Linked DNA regions of Homo sapiens: region 2 is linked to region 1. The links are contacts of gene promoters, found by promoter capture Hi-C in blood cells and fetal thymus (Javierre and others, 2016). All regions are on one chromosome and are shown on one strand. Each heading gives the region's core, a stretch centred on a gene start or on the middle of the fragment in contact. The rest is flanking DNA. Distances are from core to core; before and after follow the strand shown.

Region 1 (2,936 bases), core at 421-2,920:
GGGATTCAGCACCTATCAATGGTACCAGGCATTACGCCATGTGGTAAGCATTGGGGCTGCAGAGATGAAATGAGTGTGGAAAAAATTGCCCTGAAGAGGAACCTGAGGTTTTCACATGAAGTCTAAGGTGGCAGGAGGATTATGGGTCTTGGAGGCCTGGTAAGACACTGCAGTGAGTCTGTCTGAAGATGCCATCTCCATCAAGCCCTTCCTAGACCCAGTTCCTCATCACTGAGCATGGGAGCATCACAGATACGGGCAGTGCCTGTGGCAGAAACACTGTGGGTGGGGATCCGAGTGATCAGGATCACAGTGATGCTGGGGGAAGGTCGTCCTTCCCTGAATTTTATTCTTGGCCCTATACAACAGCCCAGCCAGATATTCCCTTATTTCAGTCATGAGCTGTCCCATGTTGTTTAAAAAGCATTAACTAATAACATTATTAAATCATCAATATTATTAACTATAGTAAATATAATAAGGCATGACATTATATTATACATCTGGATGGCTGTGGTTTTAGAACATAATTGTAAGAACTTCACCTGTGACATTGGCCTGATGATGGGTTATGATGCAGTCCTGTAGCTTAGACATGAATATTTCAGGTTCAGATCGTAGGTACTGGAACAGAGGTCTCTAGATTCTCTCCATCTTTCATTCTTCACTGCTTACTGTGGTGAACGCAGGTGCATGGAGACCCCCATATTGGATGTCAAGTCACTACCACTAAGGGGAATGAATTTTCCGAACCCAGATTAACTTTCTCAGGGAAGACTTTATTTCTTGGTTCCTCAAACTGTAGATAAAGGGATTCAACATTGGAGTTACCACTGTGTACATCACTGATGCAACTGTGTCCTTCTGGGCCGAGTGGGTTGAGGGAGAACTGAAATCAACACAAAAAGAAGTCCCAAAGAAGAGAGAGACCACGGAGAGATGAGAGCTGCAGGTGGAAAAGGCTTTCCGCTTCCCCTGAGCTGATGGGATCTTCAGGATGGTCGAGAAAACGTTCGTGTAAGAGATAATCAGGCAAAGCACACAAATGAGTCCTGTGAGACCCCCAGTGATGAAGATCACCAGCTCATTGGTGAAGGGGTCTGTGCAGGACAGACTCAGGAGGGGATTGATGTCACAGAAGAAGTGTGGGATCTCATGGTTTGCGCAGAAGGACAGGCTGTTCATCAGAAGTGTGTGTAGAAGGGAGTGGAGGGCATTCATGATCCAGGATGCAGACACGAGGAAGATGCAGAGCCCAGGGCTCATGATCAGAATGTAATGAAGTGGGTGGCATATGGCCACGTAGCAGTCATAGGCCATGACCGCCAAGAGGAATGCCTCCAGCATCACAAATAACATGAAAAAATACAACTGTAGTAGACACCCTGAGTAGGAGATGGCCTGACTCTGGATCTGTATGTTTGCCAGCATCTTAGGGACTGTGGTGGACACAAAGCAGGCATCTGCAAGGGAGAGGTTGGCTAGAAAGAAGTACATGGGGGTATGGAGTTGAGTGTCAGTAATGATGACTAGAATGATGAGGAGGTTGCCTGCCACCGTGACCAAGTACATGAACAGGAAGGACCCAAAGAGGGGCTTCTGCTCCTCCAGCTGCTCAGAGAACCCCAGGAGGAAACATTCTGAGATGCTGGTCAGATTTTTCCCCTCCATTTGTCTGTAGGAAGAAAGTTGGGTTAATTGGGTGACGTTGGTAAGCCCTGGATTGTGAACTCTGAAAATTATGCAATATTCCAGTGTTGATCTTCTAGTGTGAGGTTGGATCATAGGAAATCTCCACTATTTGACTCTTTGGGACCTGCAAAAATGGCCATTTCATAGGGTTCGACTAAATATTTGCAAATTCCTGTGCTTGGTGCTATGAGAAACCACAGATTTGTTTGTAATGCAATGAGAGGCTTTTAAATTTATTCCATAAGCATTAAGCCAATATGTGTATTTTGGGGCTGGGCTGGAGGGGCTTGCTGGCTTTGCTCTGGTAGTGTTCATGTAGAAACTATGACATTTATACAACCCAAGATTTTACAGGTCAAATGAGCCCATTGTACCAATAATTAAAAAGACAGCTCCTGGAAAGGGGTTTTGGAATTGGGAAAAGCATGGCTAACATGGAAATCATTATCACTGTTATCTACACAGCGGGTCTGGCCAGAAACCTGAGCGTCATTATTGACCCACGTTTCTCCCTCCCTGCCTACATCCAACCACCACCAAAGCCTGGCAATTTTACCTTCTCAATATGGCTACAATTTACTGACGTCTCTCTGTTTACTGGTCACCATCAGTCCCAGCTGCAGCTCATGTCATTCAGGGCACTGTGATTTCTCACTTGGATTTGGGCAGTTGATCTCCATGCCCCCAGGTATGCCCACCTGCCACCTGCTGTTCTAAATACACAGAGAATAGGCTTGCTAAAAATCAAATTCGACTCTTGTCTTTCTGCTTGAAAAATCCTTCATACACTCCTCATTACTCCCAGGATAAACTCTAAACTGAACACGGCTGAATGTCCTGGATCTTACCGTCATTTATTACAGACATCCCCAGTTCCTCATGAAACTCCCTCCTCCACTCCACACTTTATGCACTAATCATAGTTTCAATTATTTTAAAGGCCCAGATACTCCCTCACCTTTAGGCTTTCTCAGGCTGAAATAGTTTTTCCCATCCCATTTATCAGACGAGCTAAGCTTCAGGTCTCACCTTAGATGTCACCTCTTCTGGGAAGTCTTTCCCAACTCATCCTCTCACCAGAAACTCAGGTTCGTGACCTTCCTAATGCAGTGCCTCCCCCATCACAGCACGTGTCACCTTGGATTCTGAGTGTCTGTTTATATGAGTGTCCCTCATTCTGCTGTGAGCATCACTGGGAGTAGGCAGAGATGGTGCCTAATTGGCTCAGCTTTGAAATCTAGCAT
Region 2 (2,892 bases), core at 313-2,812, 66 kb after region 1:
TGTGTGAGATCCAAGAATCCTCTCCTGGGGTCTGAATCAAGACCCCTCTTCCAGGACTGTAAGGCACAATAAGGCACTGAGACCTCATCCATTAGGTGATGAGGAAACAAGGAATTGTTTTAAAGAGACAGACACCATCACTTGCATTTTCTAAATGTAATTTTGGGGCCAGTAAGCAAATTTCTCTACTAATAAGCCTGGCTGAGCATGTAAATACATTTTTTCTCCCCATTTATTCTCAATCTTTTCCCAGTGCCATGGACACACTTTTGATCCAATTATTATCAAATATGTGAAATCTTTACCTTAAATTATTAAATGTGTTTATTATAATAGTATGATTAAAACATCAGCAAAACAAAGAGAATAATATAACAAAAATTTATTATCTAGATTTAACAAATATAAGAATGTGGTCTTAGTTATTCTAAGTTTTTTAAATAAATAAATACTACAAATACTTTTGAGACTCCCTTTTTTTCCATCCAAAATCTAATTTTTTCCCCTTTACCTCCAGACATAACTGCAATTCTAGAGTTGGTAGTACGCTCCCAGTCAGGATTTATACTTTGACTACATACACATGTATTATTTTATCCATTAAAATTTACACATATTATATGATATAGTATATATCTTTCAGTAACTTCTTTCTTCAATCACATTATTTTTTATAAAATGAGGTCAGACATGCTGGCTCATACCTGTAGTCCTAACTCTTTGAGAGGCTGGGATGGGAGAGTCACTTGAGGCCAGGAGTTCAAGATCAGGTTGGGGAACATAGCGAGACCCTGTCTCTACAAAAATTTTAAAAATTATCTTATTAGTGTATAGGACTCCTACGTATTCTGAATATGAATTCCTTATCGATTATGTGTTCTGCAAATACCTCTTTCAGTTCATGGCTCATCTTTCCCCCTCCTTACGGTATGTTTTTTACCAAATGTTTTCCATTTTTAATGTAGTCAAATTTTACAATATTCTCTTTCATGTTTTATGTGGTTTAAGAAATAAATTATATCACAAATATATTTTCTCTATTTTCTTCTAAAATTTGGAAGCTTTGCTCTTACAATTAATCCCTTGGGAATTATTTTTCTGCACTTTTTAAATAAATGGGTATCCCATTGTTCCAGCACTCTTAGCTAAAGTCAGTCCATCCTTTCTCTGCCTACAGTATTATAAACCAACTCATGTCATACACCAATGTCTAATAAATTGCTTGGTGCAATGCTTGGTCTGTTCTGAGCTCTCCAGTCTGTTACATAGATTTAATTTTCAGTCCCTACACCAGAACTACTCAAATGCTTCAACTACCACAGTAATTCATTTTTTAAGGAATATGTACACCTTATTTTTTTGCATTTTTAACTCATTCCCTTTTTTTAATTGATATATAATAGTCGTATATATTTGGGGGGGTACATGTGATATTTTGATACCTGTATACCATGTGTAATGCTCTAATTGGGGTAACTGAGATATCCATTGTCTCAAACATTTGGCATTTCTTTGTGTTGGGAACATCATATTCTTCTCGTCTAGCTATTTTGAAATAATATATTATTGTTAACTCTAATTTCCCTACTGTACTATCAAATACTAGAGCTTATTTCTGAGAACATAGTAATTCATTTTAATACCTGAAAAAGTAATTTTTTTCTCATGCTTTTCCTCAAATGGACTTAGACTTCTTGGCTCTTTATTTGTCTACGTCAATTTTAGGATAGTTTGGTAAGTTCCATGTTTAAAATAAACCTGTGGTATGTTGATTAGATTGCACCAAATTTATAGATTAACTTGGGAAGAATTGACATTTTTACCACATTGAGTTTTTCTATCACCGGTGCTTTCATCTCCACGTTTTTAGATATTCTTTTTTTCTTCTTAAGTAAAGGTTTGTAATATTTGATAACAGTCTTGGCTTTTTTTGTTAGAATCATCCTAGATTCCCTAAAATTTCTGTTGCTTTCTGAATGGGGATCTTTTTCAAATTATATTTTCTAAGTTATTTTTACCTAAATACAAAAACAGCATTGATTATTTTAAATGATTTATATCTAACAAGCTTTCTGAAATCTCTTAGTGTATCTATTGATTCTCTTTGATTTTATTTCTAGACAACCACATTTTCTGTGAATTTTCTCTATTTCCTTTCCAATTCTCATGGGGCAAAAGTTTCTTACAATGATCCTTTCAAATATAGGACAGTATTTTAAGTATTTTAAGCAGACGACTCAAGTTAAGCTTCCTGCTTCTGCAGACCTGTGACTGCATCTCCAGTACCAAAAGGGAAATAATAGCACAGACTCCATCCCTGAGAGCCAAATTCCTGGTTCAAAACCCCAAAGGACCACCACAGCATCAGTTATAGCCTAAAACCCCTGCTCTGAGTTTTCTCTTGGGCTTAGCTACATTTACAAAAAAATTTTAATTTATCTAGAATATGTTTTAATAGAAACAGGACCTGTCAACATGAGTTTGCTTTGCCATGTTGCCCAGAGTTCTCCTCTGTCTGAAATCTTACACTTCCGTATCATAGGAGCTAATAATGTCTCTGAGCCCTCCAAAATTACTGAATCCTTTGAAACCTGAGGTATTATGATTCTGTGTGAAGATGAGAAAGGGCATTTCAAGACAGAAAGCCAAGTGACTTTAGGTGCAAAGATGAAAGAACACATCATGTTTGGGGATAAGATAATTAGACCTGCATACCCAGGGCTTAGCATGTACTTCACATGTATACTATATGAGACACCAGGAATTGATGATTGAATTAATTATAGATCGGATTAACTATTCAGCAAAGTGTTTTAAGAAAAAAAGTTAGGATATATTGGGCTACAGTAACAAATACATCAGAAAATGTTTAGGCTGGGCATAGTGGCTCAT

Evidence for each region. The method cuts DNA at HindIII sites, captures the fragments that hold promoters and counts their contacts. A CHiCAGO score of 5 or more calls a contact.
Region 2: a contact is called between a fragment that was not itself captured here and the fragment with the promoter of OR1G1 in region 1, in 2 of 17 cell types (endothelial precursors and M2 macrophages). The highest score is 7.0, in endothelial precursors.

What each region holds. Positions count from the first base shown.
Region 1 is chr17:3,125,881-3,128,816 of GRCh38, forward strand. OR1G1 (olfactory receptor family 1 subfamily G member 1) reads right to left here and starts at 1,671. Exons shown (of 1, transcript NM_003555.1): 1 at 730-1,671. The coding sequence starts at 1,671. The coding sequence ends at 730. The HindIII fragment of the contact is 3,090 bases long and covers 1-2,706 here.
Region 2 is chr17:3,191,828-3,194,719 of GRCh38, forward strand. No RefSeq gene overlaps it. Among named protein-coding and RNA genes, the nearest start is that of OR1A2, 4.2 kb to the right of the region's middle. The HindIII fragment of the contact is 1,007 bases long and covers 1,060-2,066 here.